Regions from separate parts of the Homo sapiens genome. Here regions 1 and 2 are each linked to region 3. Evidence: promoter capture Hi-C in 16 types of primary human blood cells and fetal thymus (Javierre and others, 2016). All regions are on one chromosome and are shown on one strand. The core of a region is centred on a gene start or on the middle of the fragment in contact, and the rest is flanking DNA. Distances in the headings are between cores, read along the strand shown.

Evidence for each region. The method cuts DNA at HindIII sites, captures the fragments that hold promoters and counts their contacts. A CHiCAGO score of 5 or more calls a contact.
Region 1: a contact is called between a fragment that was not itself captured here and the fragment with the promoter of FLG2 in region 3, in 1 of 17 cell types (total CD8 T cells). The highest score is 5.3, in total CD8 T cells.
Region 2: a contact is called between a fragment that was not itself captured here and the fragment with the promoter of FLG2 in region 3, in 1 of 17 cell types (naive CD8 T cells). The highest score is 5.7, in naive CD8 T cells.

What each region holds. Positions count from the first base shown.
Region 1 is chr1:152,170,691-152,174,647 of GRCh38, reverse strand. No RefSeq gene overlaps it. Among named protein-coding and RNA genes, the nearest start is that of RPTN, 13 kb to the right of the region's middle. The HindIII fragment of the contact is 250 bases long and covers 1,511-1,760 here.
Region 2 is chr1:152,148,012-152,151,782 of GRCh38, reverse strand. No RefSeq gene overlaps it. Among named protein-coding and RNA genes, the nearest start is that of RPTN, 9.3 kb to the left of the region's middle. The HindIII fragment of the contact is 1,913 bases long and covers 485-2,397 here.
Region 3 is chr1:152,358,103-152,361,898 of GRCh38, reverse strand. It overlaps FLG2 (filaggrin 2), which reads left to right and starts at 1,893. Exons shown (of 3, transcript NM_001014342.3): 1 at 1,893-1,943; 2 at 2,993-3,152. The coding sequence starts at 3,015. The region is part of intron 7 of CCDST (cervical cancer associated DHX9 suppressive transcript); the gene reads right to left. The HindIII fragment of the contact is 5,522 bases long and covers 1-3,796 here.

The DNA.
Region 1 (3,957 bases), core at 386-2,885, 190 kb after region 3:
CTTTGGGAGGCCAAGGTGGGAGAGTCACCTGAGCCCAGGAGTTCAAGATCAGCCTGAGCAACATGGCAAAATCCCATGTCTACAAAAAATACAAAAATTAATTGGGTGTGGTGGAGCATGCCTGTAGTTCCAGCTACTCATGGGAGGCTGAAGTGGGAGGATCACTTGAGCTTGGAAGGTTGAGGCTTCAGTGAGCCGTGATGGCGCCACTGCACTCCAGCCTGGAGGAGAGAGCAAACCCTGTCTCAAAAAACTAAACTAAACTAAACTAAAAACATGTGTAGACAGAGTAGAAAGAGGAGTTCAGGCAAGGGAGCCAGACACAAGCTTGGACACTTTGTTTGTTAGGGAGTATTCCAGTTTCCTGGTGAAGCAGCTTTAAGGCCAGTGGTGAAAGGATGAGGAATAAAGGCAGAGTTGGTTCCTGTTGACCTTGCAGATAACTAAAAGCACAGTTAGGATCCCCATGAGGTGCCTTGCCTGAACTGAGGGCCCAGCCACTGCCATAAGCACATCAGTGGAAGGGCCAAAGCCAAGAAAGCCACCCAGGGTACTCTCAGGGGGCTTGCTAGATGTGTGTCACCCTTGTCATCACCATCAGCAGTGGCAGCTGATATTTGTTAAGCGTCTATGAGCAAGGCATTGTGCCAAAGAACGAGGATATATAAGACATTTTATGATTTCAAAGAGATTCTAATTCACTCTAGATAGTACAACAGAGCACATCACAACTCCACTGATACTTTCTGTTAATAGGAAGCATAGGTCTTGGGATCCTGGGGTGCTGATTCCAGCACTGCCTAGCGATGTGCCATTGTGTACATGGGCCTCTATTTCCATTTTACAAACAAATCAAATTTGATATTATAGTTTTCAAACTCTTTGACTGCAGAATCCTTTCCTCAGGGAAAAGCTTCAGATGTTTTAAAGATAAAAGCAGTGAGTTGAATGGGGATAAACAGCAGAATCCTGTCTGCTCAGCTCAGCCCCTGACAGGTGCCAAGGAACACAGTTTGAAAAATACTGGATTAGAGCTAAGCAGTGCTGGTCTGTTCCAGCTTGACGACTCTATATGGAGGTAGATGTTGATCTGAACCAAAGAAGCTCTATGAGATAAGATGTGATCCCCAAGTGCAGGTTGGAGAGAGATTAAAGAACTCGAGTGGTTTTGTTGGGAGTGGACATTGAAGGATGGGTAGATTTAAAGAGATTGAGGGGAGAATGAAACCTACTTCAGAGGACTTACCACCTTACTGGAGATGTGGAAATGCACCCAAGGCTAGGCAAAGAGATCATTTTAAGTAGAGCAGGGGAGTTTTGAAGGGGAGATGGAGTCAGAAATAGAAGACAGGACAGATTATGAAGACCCAGATAGAGAAAGGTGTCCTGCTTCTAAGGCCTCTGGTGCCCCCCCCACCCAGATCAGTGGGGTCTGTGACACAAGAACAAGAGAACTACTGAGAAGTCTGCATCAGTTCCCACTGTGGCTGTGGCTGACAATCATCAAGCTTCCCTGACACCTGTCACATCCCTTGTAAGTTCATCAAGTGCCACATTACTAAGCTCTCTTATCACAAAGTCCTATAAGGGAAAGAGGTGGGGTCCAAAGGACAAGGACTTAACACCCAAGACAATTGTGCCCAAATTTTCCAAACAGTAGCTAGTGTGAGCCTAAGGAGAAACAGAACTATTGCCACAGCGAAATCTGAGAGGCTTAGCAATGTCAGGTAGATCTCCTAATTTAGGAGGCGCTAAAAGCTTTTAAACTACCATCATGTCCTTAATCCTAAAATGCCATTAATCCCCTGTAACACTTCTGCATTCTTATGAGTATGTGGGTGGCAATAGCTATTATCTTCATTAAACTGGGAAGTAGAGGCCAAGGAAAAATCAGTCATGATGTCTAACACAACAAGAAATGTGAGATGGGACTTGAAATCTGAGGAAATATTCAGCAAAGAAAGGAGTGGACAGAAGACAAGGACAAAGGACTGGAAATGAAGAAAAGACAAACTCCAACTGAAGATTCCATCTCAGCTGGGAAGCCTTTCCTAATCACCCTCTAGTAAGAACAATGCCCTGCTCTGAGCTGGAAATGTCCTAATGCAGCATCCCTCACACTGTTGGGTAATAACCATTTACCTATTTCCTTTTTTTGGACTGAAAGGTCCACAGAGTCATGGAGCCTCTCTGTCTTGTTCATGGTGTGTCCCCAGCGCCTAATATTTACTGGGTAAAGGAAACTAGAGAGCCTGGGCCAGGGAAGGAAATGAGACTCAGGAGCACACAGTTAAACATAAATAACCCAGCTGCCCAGGACCAAGGAGGCCTCTGGTTGAAGCCAGAGAGAAAACTTCGCCTCCTTCAGGCCATTATCAAATGTCACCTTCTCAGAGGGGCCTTCGCTGGTCACCTGCCCAGTTACAAATCACAACCTGTCCCTGCCCCCCATTCCACCCACCATCCAGCACTTCCTGTCCCCTTCCCTGTATCTTTCTCACCATAGCACTTGGCACTGACATACACACGTTACTTCTTTGTTTATTGTATGTATCCCCAGCCTAGAATGTAAAAGCTGTATGAGGGCAGGATTTCACTGCTGCAAACTCCATCTCTAGAAGAGTGTCTGATACATAGTCGGTTATCAATAAACATTTGTTAAATGAAGAAACCATAGAATGCATGAACCTTTCTAACCCAAGGTCTATGGTAGTCCTCTAAACTTTTCAAATGTAAACACTTCTGCCAGGGTTTCTTCCCTGTGTCTCCCACTTGTGAAGACCCAGGGGAAATACCAATCCCTTATTCTCCACTCGGTCTCTTTCCAACCCTCCATCCCTCCTCTTTGCTCTTAACAACCTCTGTTCTTTGCCCTCTCACTTCTCTCTCTCATTATGTTGGTTCATAGAAACATCCAAAATGGCCAATTTGACACCAGCCCCATGTGTCTTCAGACAAGAGCCTGCCTCTAACTGAGGCCCCAGGAGCAGAATGCAAGAAAGCTAACGAAACCCCCAAGGCTAAATGGCTAGAAAGGTACCCAGATGTTCCAGAAATCTATGAACAGATTCTTACTTTCCACAAGGCACCACTTCTTGGATCGAGGAATTCCCCTAAACTATGCCCTGTTGTGTAAAATAAAACTTCCTTCCCTTTGTCTTAATCTTACCTTTTTCAAGCCTTAAAAAGATGGGACTTCCTTATTCTAGTATTTTAGGTAATTGTGATTATAACTATATTCATATAATACAGGCCTTTCTTGATCTTATAGTCTTCCACTTAACCTTTTCTCTGCTGTCATCCTCTCTAAATGAAGAGACTTGCTTTTACCACTCAATCCTATCAACAAACATTTACCCACCATGCCAGGCACTGTCCTAGGCACTGAGGCTACAAGGTGCTTACTTTCTAGTGGGGGAGAGAGATAATAAATGAACAAATATGTACTAATTCAAGTGACGGTAATAAGTGCCAAGAAGAAAAATAAAGCAGAGTAGTAGAATGGAGAATTAGTGGGAAAAGTTTGCTATTTACAGGATGGCCAGAAATTTTTCTGATAAGGTGACACTTGAGTAAATACTTGAATTAAATGAGGAATTAAATCATGTGACTGAGGGAACAGTATTTCTGTGGAAACAGCAACTACAGAGGCCTTGAAGTAGGAGATTCTTTGTCATCACCTTCTAGTTAACTTTTTCTAATATTTCAAAATTACTTCTTACTTATGGGTTTTGGAGGCCAAAACTGCACTCAGTATTTAAGAAGCCAGTCCACTAAAGACTTTTTATAATGATGATGATAAAAAATAATCATAGTTTACATTCATTGAGGGCTTACTATGTGCCAGTCACTGTATAAGCTCATCCAGCTCATAAGCACCAGAGCCAGCATTCAAACCCAGGCAGTCTGGCTCTAGAGCCAAGTTAGCTAAGAGTATTTCTGTTTCATTTTCTGTAC
Region 2 (3,771 bases), core at 192-2,691, 210 kb after region 3:
AGTGCATCATCTACATGCTAAATCCTTTTTTTTTTTTTCTATCTCAAAATACAAAACAGCCCAAATCCATGATTCTTTTCATCTCTACTCCTGTCATCCCAGTCCAGGTCACCTCTCCTAGAACACAGCTTCCTGATGGGACTCCCCATCCCTTTCAAAAAGGTAGACCACATTGTGCCACTCCCTACATGAAATTCCCAGTAGTTTCCCTCCACATTGAGAATAAAATCCAGCTTTGTTCTCAGGACCTTCCTATAGGATGGGGCCCTGCAAAGTCTCATCTTTCACCATTGTCCTCTGCATCACTGTTTTCTAATCACTCTGGCCTTCTTTCCATGATTCTAGCAGGACAAGCTGATCCCCACCGGGAGACCTTTGAACCAGCTATTTCTTTTGATCAGAATAGTCTTCTTCTCGATCTTGGTGTGGCTCAATCCTTATTTCATTCAGGTCTCAGTTAAAAAGTCACCTCGTGACAGAAGCTTTCTCTGGCATTTATTTTAAAAAAGTATCACCCCAATCAGCCTCTACCATATATTCCTCATTTGTGCTGCCAATGTTCTTAACACTTTTCATGTTTGATACCTTGTTTTTATGCTACTCATTTATTATCTTTTTCTCCCTACTGGAATGTAAGGCCCATAAGAACAAGGATTTTGTTTGTCTTGTTTGCTGCTGTTCTCTTGCATTTCGGACAATAGCTTGTCATGATGTACATCCAATAAATAAGTGTTGGTTGAATGCTCATAGAAGCCCTCCATGATCTGGCTTCAGTGTACATTTCCAACTCAGTTTCCAACAATGCCCCTAGACTCCAACTTAACAGGACAACTTCCTAGCCTCCACGTCATTGCTTATACAATTTCTTCCACTTAAACGCTGTCCTGATCTTTGTCTGCCAAAATCCTACCCATTCTTGGGACTGGCACCACCTTCTGCACCTATCATCAGCATACAGCTTATCAGATTGCATTGAAGTAAATTTTAAACCCATGTGTTTCCCACCAAGCAGTAAGGTCCCAGAAGTCAGAAATTGCATCTTATTCACAGTTGTATATTTCACATCGAGCACAGTGACTGACCAATTACATACATGAAGCTGAGATTTAAAATTTTTAAAAGACTTATATTTAAAACCTGCCTTCACCACTTACCAATTTTATGATCTTAAAAAAAATTGTCTCTTTAAGTCTCAGTTTTTGCATCTGTAAAATGGGGTTTAAAAATCCAGTTTAAAAAACAAAAATTAACAAGTGGAACCTAATCAAACTAAAGAGCTTCTGCACAGCAAAAGAAGCCACAGACAGAGTAAATGGAAAACCTACAAAATGGGAGAAAATGTTTGCAAACTATTAATCCAACAAAGGTCCAATATTCAATATCTATAAGGAACTTAAATCAACAAGAGAAAAACAAATAACCCTATTAAAAAATGGGCAAAGGACTTGAGAAACACTTTTCAAAAGAAAACATACAAGCAGCCAGCCAACAAACATGAAAAAATGCTCATCATTAATCATCAGAGAAATGCAAATCAAAACCACAATAAGATACAATCTCACACCAGTCAGAATGGCTATTATTAAAAAGTCAACAAATAACTGATGCTGGCAAGGCTGTGGAGAAAAGAGAATACTTATACACTGTTGTTGGAATATAAATTAATTCAACCACCATGGTAAGCAGTTTGAAGATTTCTCAAAGAACTTAAAACAGAGCTATATCCCATTACTGGGTACATACCCAAAAGAAAATAAAGACTTCTACCAAAAAGACACATGCACTTATATGTTTATTGCAGCATTATTCACAATAGCAAAGACATGGAATCAACCTAGATTCCTATCAATGGTGGATTGGATAAAGAAAATATAGTACATATACACCATGGAATACTACACAGCCATAAAAAACGAACAAAATCATGTCCTTTGCAGCAATATGGATGCAGCTACAGGCCATTATTCTAAGCAAATTAATGCAGAAACAGAAAACAAAATACCACATGTTCTCACTTATAAGTGGGAGCTAAACACTGAGTACACATGGACATAAAGATGGGAACAATATACACTGGGGACCACTAGAGTGGGGAAGGAGGGAAATGAGTGTACATTGAAAAACTTCCTATTGGGTACTAAGCTCAACACCTGGATGATGGGATTCATACCCCAAACCTCACTGTCACGCAATATGTCTATGTAACAAACTTACACATGTACCCTCTAAAGCTAAAAATAAAAGCTGAAGAAAAAATTCCAAAGTTTAAAAATTCTAAAGTTTCTTAGAGATAAATACAGATGATATATACAAAAGTGATTTATAATCTGATCTCTCCTTGTTCATTTACTTGGTATGCATTATCTTTTCTTCTCCTACATTATTTTAATAGAAGCTTAACAAATACATTTTGATATGATTTGGGTATGTGTCTCTTCCAAATCTCACATTAAAGTGTGATCCCCAATGTTGGAGGTGGGGCCTAGTGGGCGGTATTTGGGTCATAGGGGCAGATTCTTCATGAATGTCTTGGTGATGTCCTTGTGGTAATGAGTGAGTTCTCACTCCATGAGGTCATGTGAGATCTGGTTGTTTAAAAGAGCCTGGGACCTCTTCCTTCTCTCTTTTGCTCTCTCTCCTGCCATGTGACATGCCTGTTTGCCCTTCACTTTCCACCATGACTAAAAGCTTCCTAATGCTTTCACCAGAAGTAGATGCTGGCATCACACTTCTTGTACAATCTGAAGAGCTATGATCCAAAATAAACCTCCTTTCTTTATAAATTACCCAGTCTTTTATTATTTCTTATAACAATGCAAAATGTACTAATACAGAAAATTGGTACTGAGAGTAGGGTGTTGCTATAAAGATACCTGAAGATGTGGAAACAGCTTTGGAACTGGGTAATGGGCAGATACTGGAAGAATTTGGAGGTCTCAGAAAAAGACAGGAAGATAAGGGAAAGTTTGGAACTTCTCCAAGACTTGCTAAGTGGTTGTGACCAAAATACTGATTGAAATATGAACAGTGAAGCCCAGGCTGATGAGGTCTCAGATGGAAATGAGAAACTTTTTGGGAACTGGAGCAAAGGTCACCCTTGTTACACTGTTACAAAGAGCTTGGCTGCTAGGGATCTAAGGAAGCATGAACTTAAGAGTGATGACATAGGGTATCTGGTAGAAGAAATTTCTAAGCAGCAAAGCATTCAAGATATGGTGTGGCTGCTTCTAACAGGCTATGATCAGATATGGGAGCAAAGAAGTGACTTAAAGTAGGAACTTGTAATTAAAAGGAAATCAGAGCATAAAAAATCAGAAAATTTGCTAGCTGGCCCTGTAGTACAGAAGGAAAGAGGCTTTTCAGGAGAGGAATCCGAGCAGGCTGCAGAGCAACCACTTGCTAAACAGATTTGAATGCCTAAATGGAAATAAATTGCTAATAGTCAACACCATGAGAAAAAAAGTCCCAAAGGCATCTGAGAAGTCTTCAGGACAGCTCCTCCCATCACAGGCCCAGAGGCCTAGGAGGAAAGAATGGTTTCAAAGGCCAGGCCCAGGACACTGCTGTGCCATGAAGCCTCAGGACACTGCTCCCTGCGTTCAGGCTGCTCTGGCTCCAACTGGGGCTCTAAGGGCCCCAGGTACAGCTTGGGCCCTGCTCCCGAGAGTGCAAGCCATAAGTCTTGGAGGTGTCCACATGGTGTTAAGCCTGCAGGTGCACAGAATGCAAGCATTAAGGAGGCTTGGCAGCTTCCACCTAGATTTCAGAGGA
Region 3 (3,796 bases), core at 644-3,143:
TCAACTATAATGCTGGAGTGACAGTGCAAAAATGCTTTAAAATTCTGTCTCAGTGTGGAGTCTGGGGCCTGAAAGTCTTTCTGACACAGCAGCCATCTTAACAAAAATGCACTTCCAAAAGATGCATATGATTGAAAATGACCATAGTATCCAACAGCAACCATAACTTTCTGTGTGGTTGTTTTGGTCTAGGATTCCTTGGCTATGTGAGCAATTGACATATTTCAAGGGCCTATTCATTAACATTTTATGAACAGACACTCATTCTTAGTGTTTACCAAGCTCTAGGTGCTGCCTAGATGGTGGAATGAATAAGATATGATGACTGGCCCAAAGCAATGCCCAGATAGGAGTTTATTGACTCCATATATGTAGAATATATATGGTTAAGTGCTAGGCTTTAGCATCGGCTAGCATGTGTATCTGTTCTAGTGCTGCTACTAACTAGCTGCGATTTGTAACAAATGTTTACATTGCTCTATGCTTTTATTACCTTATCTATAAAATGGGGTTATTTTGAGGAATAAATAGATAAGCATGTAAACCTACCATGTATAGAAGATAGTAAGCACTTAGCACTTAATGGTAGCTGCTATCCTCCTCATCATCATCATTATCACCTGGTAGCAAAGTACAGCAGAATTGGCTCTCCATGCTTAAGACTTACAGCTCTCTGATTATTTTTGTTACCCTCAAGTGTATTTGATATACTTTCTGTACATAAGTGAACATTTTCCCAAGGGTCCAGGCCCTAAACATGCCAGACTACCAGTGGATCGCAGAGTGCTGGAAGAAAGCTCACTCTAAATTCACCCTGAACATATCTGAAAACATTATTTTTATATATAGCCAATTACACTTTTCTAGCCTAGAAATGAGCCTTCACAAGGTCAGAGAATGTTTCCTCTCTTCCTAACAGCACTCTGTATGTTACTTTTTTATATTATTTGCGTTTGAGTGGGCCTTACACTCCTAAAATGGTGCATAATTTTTGCATGATAGTTATATATGATAAATACACAGAGGTAAGTTAGTATAATGGTAAACAGCAATTGCAATAAGGTAGATACAGGTTCAACTTCTGGTTTCTCTGCCTACTAGCTATGACCTTGGAGAAGATCCTTATGCTTCCAGAACCTGTCTCTATAAAATGGGATAATAAATACATATCTCGTATGAAGGTTGTGAAGATTAAATGAGGTGATAAGATCTAGTATTTGGTAACATAATATGGTAACTATAGTTAACTATTTATTGTATATTTTTAAATAACTAAAATAGTAGAATTAGAATGTTCCTACTACAAAGAAATGCTTGAGGTGCTGGATACCCCAATTACTGTAATTTGATCATTACACATGGTATGCCCATATCAAAACATCACATGTACCCAACAATTATATACAACTATGTACCCATAACTAAAAGTGCAGATTTTTTAAAGATTGAGATGGTTTGTTTAAAGTATTTAGCACATAGTAAATTCTCAATAAATGTCACTTTTTATTATTACAAAAAAGACATGAATTAGATGAACCTAGTGGCTCAGGTTCATTTTCAATTAAATAAGCATTTATTGTGCACCTTCCAAGTATCTTACACTCTGCTACTTTCTGTGGGTACTAGTTAAAAGAAATGTATAACATGAGTCCTCTAAAACAAAGTCTGTGCTTTTCACATGTATATGACCCTGAAAAAAAAGGTATCTTGCAACCATGTCCTCGTACTGGAAGGTGGGGCTGGTACTAGCCTTTCTGCAATCATCTGTAGATAACAATGTGAAGGAGGAAGGTAAATATGTAGAGGTGGAGTTAGGTTTGATGGAAAATGAATCACCTCATTCACTATAATCACTATAAGCTATATAAGGGTCATTATCCCAATCCATCGTCACCCTGCAAGCTGCATCAGGCTTTATCCTACTTGTTCCTTTGGTGAACCAGGTGAGAGAAAATTCATCCAGCTACATTTATGAATATTTGGTGTTGTCCATAGTAGAAGTCTAGGGATATAAGCTAAGGCAGAGTTCATGTATATTTTGCCTTTCTTTTCTTTTTTGTTTCTTTCTTTCATTTTCTTTTCTTTTTGTTTGCTTATTTGTTTGGTTAGTTTAGTTTATTCTGGGGCCTTTTTGTAGTTAAGTTCATTTTTATGGAGAAGAATAATGCAAGTAAAAGTTCACCTTCCTCTAGGCCATTCCACAGTCTGTTCCGAGTCTTTTTCCATGCCCTCTTTTCTGGGCTGTCCAGCTCAAACTGGGAGGCAGCTGGGTCTGTTGCAGAGTCCCTTCCTTATTCAGTGTTGGTTCCCAGAGCTCCAAGATCTAATTATCCACTAGTTAAACTGCTGCCTGCATTGCTGAGCTCTTCTTCTTGATTAATTAAAGAAAACAGTGTTTGGTCAAGTGCTTGACATTAAGAGAGTTCCTAAGCTCTACTGAGTTCTACTGTCTCATGCCTATGAAACACCAAGCTATTTTGAGCCCCTTTGCCCATTTTTAATTTGCTGAAGGCCTTAAGGGTCCAGTTTAGCTTCTGGTGCCCAGAGGATAAACAGATGTGCATGGTGGAAGGTCTGTCACTTTTGACTCAAGAAAAGCAGTGAAACTAGAAAGAGAGATTGAGGCAATGGTGTCTGGCTGGTTCTGGAAATTTTGGAAGCCTTAGAACAACACCCAGAATGCCAACACACTCAAAGTGTAGAGATACTATGTAGAGACTATACTTACCCATGACAGGAAATATAGAGACTTGAGGTCTATTCTCAGTTGAACCAGTAACATGCCAAGACTTGATCACAGAAAAGTAACTCAAAGTTAACAAAGTTAATTTTCATTGTGTTAAACGGGGTTGTATCATCCCTGGCCCATTCTTACGTTTTGAGATTTAAAAAACAAGAGGTTAAAAAAATCATGCTGGTTATTATTAAAATGAAAATTGCTGATAAAAGGAGAGAATATGAATAATAGGGTTCTTTGTTTTTCTGTGTCCAGGTTCACTTAAACTTGCAAAAAGATGACCGACCTCTTGAGAAGTGTTGTCACCGTAATTGATGTTTTCTACAAATACACCAAGCAAGATGGGGAGTGTGGCACACTGAGCAAGGGTGAACTAAAGGAACTTCTGGAGAAAGAGCTTCATCCAGTTCTGAAGGTGAGAGCCATGTGCCAGAACTGAAGGCTGCTGGAGTCCTGTACAAGCTCTGTTGTATGACCCAGATCAGCTAAAAAGTGCACAGCCCCAGTGAACTCTAAGCAAACTCTATGAGTGGTATTTTGGGGATGCCAGAAAGTCTGTTAAAGCAGCAGATATTTTAAAGAAAGTGAATGTTTCGTCCTCACTTTTCCACCTATGCACTCCTACCTCATAGACTCTCAGACTTTCTCATACACCCAGGCTTTTCCTTAGAAAAAGCAGAAAATAAAATTATACTAGGACACGAATTAATAAATTATCCTATCAAATGGAAAAAAAAGTATAGAAAGGGAAATCATCTACATAGGGAGTTGACAAAATAGCCATGATTAAGAATCAAAAATAAAATGCCAGCATTTTATTCCATCTACTTAAAAAGGACTCAGCTAGGCGCGGTGGCTCATGCCTGTAATCCCAGCACTTTGGGAGGCCGAAGTGGGTGAATCACAAGGTAAGGAGATCAAGACCATCCTGGCTAATACGGTGAAACCCCATCTCTACTAAAAATACAAAAAATTAGCCGGGCGTGGTTGCATGCCCCTGTAGTCCCAGCTACTCGGGAGGCTGAGGCAGGAGAATGGCGTGAACCTGGGAGGCAGAGC